2 separate regions of the Homo sapiens genome follow, and region 2 is linked to region 1. Evidence: promoter capture Hi-C in human tissues and cell types (Jung and others, 2019). All regions are on one chromosome and are shown on one strand. Each heading gives the region's core, a stretch centred on a gene start or on the middle of the fragment in contact. The rest is flanking DNA. Distances are from core to core; before and after follow the strand shown. Region 1 holds the start of MAP2K3 (mitogen-activated protein kinase kinase 3). Region 2 has its middle 55 kb from the start of KCNJ12.

The links. The method cuts DNA at HindIII sites, captures the fragments that hold promoters and counts their contacts. A contact is called where the count stands out against the background at its distance.
Region 2: a contact is called between a fragment that was not itself captured here and the fragment with the promoter of MAP2K3 in region 1, in 2 of the 25 tissues and cell types used here (dorsolateral prefrontal cortex and spleen).

Annotation. Positions count from the first base shown.
Region 1 is chr17:21,280,705-21,286,023 of GRCh38, forward strand. It overlaps MAP2K3 (mitogen-activated protein kinase kinase 3), which reads left to right and starts at 4,007. Exons shown (of 12, transcript NM_145109.3): 1 at 4,007-4,265. The coding sequence starts at 4,217. RefSeq lists an enhancer at 3,079-3,579 and a silencer at 3,466-3,995. The HindIII fragment of the contact is 7,420 bases long and covers 1-5,319 here.
Region 2 is chr17:21,429,041-21,433,923 of GRCh38, forward strand. No RefSeq gene overlaps it. Among named protein-coding and RNA genes, the nearest start is that of KCNJ12, 55 kb to the left of the region's middle. The HindIII fragment of the contact is 9,626 bases long and covers 1-4,883 here.

The DNA of each region.
Region 1 (5,319 bases), core at 2,757-5,256:
TTTTTTGTTTTTTGAGACAGGGTCTTGTTGCCCGCCAGGCTGGAGTGCAGTGGTATAACCTTGGCTCACTGCAGCCTTGACCTCCTGGGTTCAAGTGATCCTCCCACCTCAGCCTCCTGAGCAGCATGCCACCATACCCAGCCAACTTTTTTTTTTTTTTTTTTTTGTAGAGACGAGGTTTTGCCATGTTGCCCAGGCTGGTCTCAAACTGCTGGGCTCAAACGATCCACCTGCCTCGGCCTCCCAAACTGCTGGGACTATAAGTGTGAGCCACCATGCCTGGCCTGACATAATTTGACTTAGGCATTTTGCTTGTCTGGCTCACACACCAGGTCATACCTCCCCAGGGAGTTGTGTCCATCTTGTTCAATGTTGTGTTCTCAGTGCCAGTCACACAGTAAGTGCTCAATGAATATCTGTTGAATGAATGAAGGAGCTGCCCACATCCTGGGTTTGGGTCAGCCTCTCTCTTTTTTTTCCCCCATCATCAGTATTTATTGAGCATTTACAGTGTACTAGGCACAATAGAACATACAGAAAACATTTCCCTGCCCTTGAGGAGCTTACATTTTAAAAGAAAAAATACACCTCTTTTAAAATGGCATTTTTGTTTGGTGTTTTCTGCAAAGTACCGAGGAAATATTTTGTAAAGTGATGCTTTGGGTATAACTTAGCCCCATCATTATTTAAAGAATAGAGGAAGAAGAAAGAGGAAGGATTTTAAAGGCAGACAATGACAGACCATTCAGGATAGGTAGGGTTTTAAAGGGAGATAAACACAATCTCATCGACTAAGGAGAGATTTGCTGTAGTAAATAGGATGAGGGAAATAGTCTGTGGGATGCAAGCAAAGGAAGCAGGGTGCCTTAGACATTGATTGGAGCCAGAAAGATCATGCGGCCTTTTTCCAAGTACATGGCCACCAAGTAGGAATGGTTGGTGACAAGACAGAAGGCTAAAAAAGGAAGGTAATCTTGTGCACCTGACAAATAGAAAGAATAAAGGATCAAAATCGAAGGCAGGCTACAATAGTATCAAGAAATTCTTAAAAACCAAAAAGTGATTTGGAAGCACAAAACTTATAGTTAATGCTATTGAGTCAGCCTCTCTTTACAGCCTTCTGTCACCCCAGGTCCTGCCCACCTCAGATCATGCTTGCATCCTGACTTTGGCCACAATCCTTCCCATCCAGAGACTCAGTTTCCTGCATCCACAGAGAGCAGGTTTGGGACTTTTCTCCTAGGAATCAAGGTAAGAGGCAGCCTCTTGTGACCCATGTCAAACATTTATTCTGCTTTCTGCATGGTCATGGAGTTCCCCAATCTGACTGTGCCACTTACAGACAGAAAGAAATCAAGAGATGTCACTATAGCAAGCCAGCAAGAGACCTTTGTCTCTGATGGTTCTTGATGGTACTTCTTGAGCTCCAGTGGTGCAGCTGTGCATCCCAGTCTGGCCCTCACCTGGTCCTCATGTGTGGCCCTTTTTACATCTCCAACCCATTGCCTCTGCTGTTCCTTTCCAGGGATGCTCTTCTTGCTTCTCTGCCTGGTAAGCTCCTACTGGTCCTTAAAAGTCCAGTCTCAAAATCACCTCCTCTGAGAGGCCTTCCTTGTCCCCACCCAGATGGAGATGGCTGCATCACCCAGGCACCCTCCTGGGACTTTTGCTCATGCATCTATTTATAGCACTCACATGGAGTTTTGTGATTCCTGAGCTGTTTATCGGGCTCCTGACTAATCCCCAAACTCCTTGTATGCGAGGGCCTGTCTGAGTCATCTGGCCGCCAAGGAGGTTGGCACGGGACTGGAGTCGCTTCACCCTGGTCTGTGGATGCTTTCCTCCTTCCTTTTTTCATTCCTCAAATATTTATCAGGCACCTACTATGTGCCTGGTTCTGGGCTATGCATTGGGAACACAGCAGGGAATGAGGCTCGGATGGTCTGGAGGGAGAGCTGTGTTAAAAACTGAGTCAGTAACAAAGACATCAGCAGCATAAGTGTTGTGCCTCAGTCTGGGGACCATGATGAGAAGGCCTCTTAGGGGTGTTCATTTAGGAAGCGGTCTGAGGGATGAGAGGGAACCAGCCCCAGGAGGCTTGAGTGGAAGAATGTTCTGGGCAGGAGCAGCAAGGGTGAAGCTGCTGCGGCAGGACCATCCCTGGCACATTTGAGGGGCAATACTGAGACTCTTGAACATCCCAAGAAGCAGAGTGCACAAGGCGGAGTGTGGCCTTGTGCAGAAGTCAAGGCTGTTGGCCAGTGCCTGAACCCAGAAAACTCGCTGGACTAGCCTTGCAGTTCTGGTAGAAAGGAAGCTGCTCCTGGATGCCCATTTTACAGACGGATAAGCACAGGTCACCAGGGATGATATGGCAAGGATGGAGGCAGCCCACAGTGTTTTCAAACTCACATTTCCTGGGCACCTAGTGAGTGCCAAGCCCTAGGCCAGGTGTTTCCACTCCTGAACTCATGAAACGCTTTCAGAGACCTTATTGTCCCCATGGGATAGGTAAACTGAGGCACAGAGCTGCTCAGTGACTTCTTTAAGGTCATCCAGCTAGTAAGTGGAGGAATTGGTATTGGAACCCATACCTATCTGAGCCCCAGACTCATGATTTTCCATCCCACTGCCTGGGAAGGGTGAACAGGAGACGCAGGAAGAGAATGGTGATGGCTGCAAGGCTTCCCTCTTATCTCCTGTGGCTCCCCACTCTGTGCATGGGGCCCTGCATCACCCCCACTTTACACCTGGGCAAGCAGAGGTCAGGCCCGGCCTCAAGCCTTTCTAGCAGGTGGTGGAATCTGCTTCCCTCACGTGAGGTCCCTGACAGGGTACACATGTCTGCCTGGAGGCCAGGGGCTGACCCCTTGACCTTTGCCTGGTACATTCTGCCTTCACTAGCCCTGGCTTTACATCCAGAGTCATCTGTTCCCAGCGCCAGATTGGTCAGCGGTTCCTGAAATCCCCCGAGGTTCCGTGTGGGAGCAGAGGGAGGACTGGCCCATCCAGCCATTATGCAGATGGGCAGACTGAGATCCTAGGAGGAGAGGAGAGAACGAAGGTCCAGGAGAGAGCCAGGATGGGGCCTCGGGGCTCGCGGGATAAAATGCACCGCATGCCGCCTCACTCCCTCTGAGACACGGTTTCCCCCTGTGTAGAACAGGGGCAGCAGTAACCAGCCACGAAAACTCCTCGTGCTGCCTCGTCACCGGGCATCGCTGAGCTCACCACCGACCCCGCGCCCTGGCCGGGCGCCTGGAGCGCGGGCGCGGGCGACGTTTGCTGGCGCCAGGCCCTCAGTGCGTGTTAGCGAGCAGCGCCGGGAGATAGCTGTCACCGCCGCCCGCTCACAGATGCGTAGACTGAGGCTCAGGTGTCACCACCTGACCAAGGCTAGTTCCGCTACAAAGCTGCCGACTCGGATCCGAACCCGGGTCCAATTTACAGAAAAGGAAACTGAGGCCCAGAGACACTAGGGAGCTTGCTAGGGTGAGGCAGCTGCAGGTTCAGAGAGCCAGGAGGCAGCCCAGCAGCGCACTTTTAACCCCCGCCCACTTCGGCAGGCCCAGCCGTGCCACCTTTAGGGATCTCGGGTTTTTTCCAGACGACGCACCCAGGAGAACGCGCCCGCGCATCGCACCCGCCGGGGCTGCGGGTCTGGGGGTGCCGGGCTGGGCCTGGGCGCCTGCAGGGAGCAGCGGGCTCAGTGGGTCCCGGGAGTGGGTGGGGCTTGCATGTTGACGGGCAGCGCGAGGGGCGCGGCTTTAGTCCAGGGGGCGGAGCCTGACCGGACCTGGGTTTTTCGGGCGGCTGGCGGACTTGACAGAGAGCGGGAGGGGCCCGGATCCTGGGCCTAAGGAGGGTGGGGCGTGTGCTTGACAGGCAGGGACAGGCCGGCGTCTGATAGGCAGAGGACGGGCCTTGGAAACGAAAGGACCAATCGGGCACGCAGGGGCGGGGCCTGAGTCAGCGCAGTTCGGCCGGGGTCTCCCCGGCGCTGCCCAGTCTGTCTCCGGCGCCGCCCGTCGCGGACTCGTCCTTGCTGCAGTCGCCGCCGCAGTCCTCGCCGCAGTCGCCGCCGCCGCCGCCGCCGCCGCCGCTGCTCCTCCGCCTGGCCTGGGCCGTCTGCCCGCAGCCATGAGCGTGCTCGGCCCCGGTGGAGCCCGCAGTCCTCTAGATTAGTCTCCACCGCCGTCCAGGACCCACTTGCAGCATGGAGTCGCCCGCCTCGAGCCAGCCCGCCAGCATGCCCCAGTCCAAAGGTAGGCGCTCCCGGCCGGGACCTCGGCCTGACCCCGCGCCTAATCTGGGGCCGGGCTGCAAACCCCGACCTTTCTTTGGTCCCACCCCATCCTGTTCTCGACCTGGCAGCGGCGTCCGGTCCCGGAACCCCTTCCTGTTCGGGGTCCCGGGACCAGCCCCCGCCTGGGCCCTCACCTGGACCCCCACGTTAGGCCTTGGGACTGCACTCAGGCCCGAGATCACCCAGGCTGGACCCAGACTAGGACTTTGTTCTGCTCACCCCATCCAAGTCAGGAGCCTCATTCTGACCTCATTTGGGCCTTATGGCTGCAGCCTGGACATGAACTCTCCCAGTCTTCTCCCTCAGCGGGACCCAGGTGAGATTCACACTGGCCTTCACCTGGGTCCTTGGGCAGCACCCAGTCCCATTTCTAGCTTCGGGTCCCAGGGCTGTATCCAGGTTGGGATTTAACTTGAGTCTCCATCTGGGCCCCAGAGTGCTCCTGTTGTTGCGGACCTCACTGTACCCCCTATGCGGGTGCTCTGGCTACACCCCAGCTCGGAACTCCCCGTCCTTCTCTCCCCCAGCTCTTCTTATCCTTATAGGCCCTATGTTGCCCCTTCCCTGGCTGGCCTGCACCCTGTCCTGCAGCCCTGGGCTCCCAGGAACCTTCCTTGTCCTCCCACCCCTCCCTAAGGTACAGCCCCCTCTCTACCGGCCTCTCTCTGTCTTGAGTTGCAAGCTTCTCCCTGCACTGGGGGTTCTCACCCCATCTTATTCTTGTCCTGGCTGCCTGGGATCTGGGCCAGCCGCCAGGCCAGGGTGCTGGCTGTGCAAGGGATTTGCTCTTCTCCAAGTAGCTGGCCTTCCTGGAAATTTTTGTGAGGTGGCAGCAGCAGGATTTGTCATGCGGAGGGGGAAGGATGAAACTCGGAGGGCAAAAGGGGAATTTTTTTTTTTTCAGGAAGAGGAAAGGATGTTTTTGGTGCGTCGGAGTTTCAGTAGGCTGGGTTGTGCGAGAGATTTCCAAACCGGACATAGCCGTAATGAATGGGCTGCCTCCTGGCTTTCTG
Region 2 (4,883 bases), core at 1,211-3,710, 150 kb after region 1:
ATGGCCTACAAAGCCTAAAATATTTAATATCTCACCATTTATAGAAAAAGTTTGGAGATCTCTGATGTAAGCTCCAAGAAGCAGCCAACTTTGTCTGTTTTGTGCACAGACATTCTAGCTCATAAGGAAGGCACTTTTCAAATTATCTGTAATGGATGAATGGACAGACAGATGGGCGGATGGACGCACGGATGGATGGACAGTTCCCACACAGTGTTGGAGTTGACCAATGGTCAGACCATACATTTATGGCAGCAGAATCTACAAGCTAATGGGAGCTTATCCCACAGGTTTCAGCCACTTACTATGAAGCAGGCTTAGAAAAGACCAAGAGTGGGGCTCTCCCAGGAAGAAGTGATAGATGGGGAGCAGGTGGTGCTGATGGAAGGGGCTGAGTGGGGTCCGTGGAGGCCACCATGGGTGAGGAGGACGTGGAGGCTACAGGCGCTGATGGACAGGGGAAAGTTGGCATTAGATGCCAGCCTGCATGACCCGAGAACGCAGAGCAGCTCCCGTGATGAGGCTGTACCCAAACTCCACTTTCTAAATTGCATTTTCTGTCCCTTTCATCCGAATCATCCCTCACCTATCAAAGGACTTTTCCACCCCTGGCTCCTCCTGTGCTCGCCCACCAAATGCAAGGGAGCTGTTTTCCTCATGCTATGGGCTGTGTCCCCGCAATTCATATGTTGAAGCCCTAACCCTGGTGCCTCAGAATGTGACTGCATTTGAAGATGGGATCTTTAAACAGGTAATTAAAGTTGAGTGAGGTGATGAGGGTGGTCCTAATTCAATCGGACTGATGTCCTTATAAGAAGAGATTAGAATGAAGGTGTGCACAGAGGGTCAACCATGTGAGGACACAGGGAGAAGATGGCTGTCTACAAGCCAAGGAAAAGCCTGAGGTGACACCTTTTCCCAGGATCCCCGTGGCAGACTGATTGCATTTGATCACTTCCAGGATGAAGAGGGCAGCAAGATGTTCTCCCTGGAAGAGGCACTTACTCTGAATATGGGCTTATCTTCTCTGCCCGCAATCCTTCCATGGAAGTATGATCTGTTAACCACAGACCTTTTCACCATCATGGTGTCCCACTCAGAATTGCTCTGACTCAGGAAGCTACTTTATATCAAAGGAATGTGGCAACGGGTCAGTGCTTGTGGAATTCACTGATGCTGCCTTGTTCCCTGCCTTCCAAAAGCAGCTGATCTGGGAGAATAGTGGAATGGAGATTTTTCTCTCTCAGGCAAAGGAAAAAAAAAAGAATTTTACTTGATTATGACTTTCTCTCAATAGAAACACCATATTGCCAAATGCTGCAGACACTAATACGAATGGATGACAAGGCAGCAGTCCTTGCCAGCACACTCAAGCAGGGTCAGAGAAGACACATTGCAGTGGGTGGAATCACGGCCCCTGAATTATCCAGGCCCTCACCCCTGGAACCTAGGACAGTTCCCTGACACAGAGAAAGGATCTTTGCAGATGTGATTTAAATTAAGGTCTTGAGAAGTGGGGGATTATGATAGATGACCCAGGTGGTCCTAAATGCAATCACATGTGTCTTTATCAGAGGGAGGCAGAGGGAGATTTTACTACAGACAGAAGAGGAGGTGGCCATGTGACCACGGAGGCAGAGGGTGGAGGTGGCCAGCAGCCACTAGAAACTGGAGGAGGCGAGGATTGGGGTCTCCCGGAGCCTGCAGAGGGAGCGCGGCCCTGCTGACACCTTGATTCCGGCCCAGTGAGGCAGGTTTAGGACTCCTGGCCTCTGAACTGTGACAGAATAAATATTTGTTGTCTTCAGCCACCAAGTTTGTGCTAATTTGTTACAGCAGCCACAGGAAATGAATATATCCATGCCAAAATTAATACATGCATTCCATTTTATATTCTTTTCCAACCTTAAAATAAAACCAACAAGTGCTTCCAGATTTTCTTTTATAATTCTCTTTGTGCATTCAGTTCAGTAAATGTTCAAAAGGGTAATACGTTTATAAAATGTGATGCCAAATTGCATAAAATTGACCAGACTAAAGGGGAAAATTTACCATTTTATGAAATAAAATATAATTTACAGATCACCAGCATTAATTTATATCATGTCCTGCTTTGGGCTTCCAAATTCTGTTGGCAATTTTACCCTGGAAAAATATCATGAACCAAATAGGAAAACTGGTATTCTAAATACACTTCCTTCATGTGACACATTTCTTGTGTGTGGATGTAATGAGAATTCAAAAAAAGAAAAAAAAGATGTGTTTTTATTCCTCCCTTTATTGCCAAAATTAAGGCAGTAAAAACAGGCACCAAAGGAATGAGTTAAGATAGATTTAGAAGAGGACAAGTGGAAGCCAGGCAGGGCAGAATTCTAAGATAAGGGTCAAGATCCTCACCCTCCTCCTCAGCGGTGGCCCTGGGATGTGATGCGATGTCACTCCCATGGTTATGGCACATTACATGGCAAAGACGATTTCCGCAGATGCGGAGATACAGGCTCTTCTGATGGTCTTCAAGGGGAAAAAGCCATGTTGTGGAGACAGCCACCTGGTGGGGAATGGATAGGCTTTAATCCTTCTTTAAATGTTTGGTAGCATTCAATAGGGGAGAATGCTGTAGTTTGCATGTTTGACCCCTTAAAAATCTCACGTTGAGATTTATCCCCAGTGTTGGCGATGGGGCCTAATGGGAGGTATCTGGGTTATGGGGGTGGATTCCTCATGAATAGATTAGTGCTTTCCCTCAGGGTGAGTGAGCTCTTGTTCTACTAGTTCCTGGGAGAGCTGGTTGTTAAAAAGAGCCTGGCACCTCCTCCCTCTCTCTCTTGCCTCCAGTCTTGCCCTGTGACCTCTGTGCACACTGGCTTCCCTTCCCCTTCTGCCACGAGTGGAAGCTCCTTGAGGCCTCACCAGAAGCAGATGTTGGTGCCATGCTTCCTATACAGGCTGCAGAACTGTGAGCCAAGCAAATCTCTTTTCTTTATAAATTACCTAGCCTCAGGGATTCCTTTATAGCAACACATAACAGACTAAGGCATTTGCTGTTTTGTATAAATGGAATCACACAACATGTGGCCTTTTGTGACTAGCTTGTTTCACTTAGCATCATTTTTTCAGCATTCATCCATGTGGTTGTGTGTATCAGGACTTCATTCTTTTTATGGCTGAATAACAATCCATTGTATGTATACACCACATTTGATGCACTCCCCACTCCTTCATCTGTTGCTGGACACTTGGGTTGTTTACCCCTTTTGGCTGTTATGAATAATACTGCTATTAACACTGGCATGCAAGTATCTGTTTGAGTCCCTATTTTCAATGCTTTCGGGATTATACCTAGGCATGGAAATGCAGGGCCATATGGTAATTCTATGTTTAACTTTTTGAGGAAACTCCATGCCGTTTGCCACAGCGGCTGCACCATTTTCCATTCCCACCAGCAATATACAAGAGTTCCAATTTCTCCACATCCTTGCCAACACTTGTTATTTTCCATTAAAAACATTACAGGCATCCTAGTAGGTGTGAAGTGCTATCTCATTATGGTTTTGAGTTTCATTTCCCCAGTGACAAATGATGTGAGAATCTGGTGGCCCAGTGGGCTTGGAGATTCACTGGGCTGGATGGTGGGAAGGGTTCACCTGCCTCCTTCGTGCCCTCCCAGAGCTCAGGATGCTTTGTGATGTGGGCCTAAACTCTAGTCAGGAGAGCACATTCTTTGCTCAGGTGCCTGAGGTGGCTGTGAGCTTCAGATGATGAAGAATTTTGTTTGGTTTCTTCTGCATTTTAGTGAGCCCTGGAACTTTGGTTCCATTTTTTCATTTGTATGGAGTTGGGATCATCTTTCTGCCATCTGACTGCATTCTGTGGTGTCCACATTTGCCAGTTTGGAAAAAACATGTACCCAAATCAGGTAATGAAACCCAAGGGCTGCCCACTGAAGCAGTAGACTTTCATCTTCCCTTCCCAACTCCCATTTTTCTAAATCTATTATTGGGATGGAAAGACCTAGGGATGGGGACTCTTGGGAGATTTAAACATCAGTAGTCTAGAATAGGTTGGGCAGGGCAGAGGCTGAGCAGGGCAGTAGTCTAGAATAGGTTGAGCAGGGACCGACCCCCTGCTAGGCATGGGGCAGGCTTCCAGGGCTAAGCCCCACACTGCAGTGCAGGCTGTGGACCAGTTTCCCTGCCCCCTGCCACCTGCCCAATGCAGGAGTCTCTGGGCCATGCCATTCCCTTTTGGTGAGCTGGGCTGGATAGTGCTGCTAGCCTCTGGCAGACTGGTGGGACCCACAGGAGCTGTCTCAGGGGCTGGACCCTGCAGAATGCAGCCTGCATGTGCCTGAACAGCTGAGATTCCATGCCCCACAATTTAGAAATCCATGTAGAAAAGAATTCTTTATTTGAGATTGGTGGAGAAGGATCAGAAGACCATATTTTTAAAATCAATGTATATATATGTAGTATGTATTTATTTTTTACTTAGTTTTGCACCTACACTATACACAGGATCAATCAATTTTAAAAATGAATAACACGGAAACGAGACAGATCTCAATGAAACCCATGTAAGATTATTGATCACATGATTCTTAATCATGCTCTCTCAGGATCTCAAACTCACCAAAATGGACCTGCCTCCTGGATTCCGTGGCGAACAGGCTGTGAGAGTGTCCCTTCTGGTTCTGCTCACAGGCTACAGAGGGCAGCAAACAGGACAAGAATCTGTCTTCGACTCAAGAGCAGCCAGAGACCCTTAGCAGTGGAGGGAGAAATAGGTGTATGGGACTCAAGACCCCTTGCCCAGGAAGATGAGCAGGTCCTGCACCCCAGTTCCTGCCATGGGGTCCAATAAGAGGAACTTAGTGTCAGTGATTT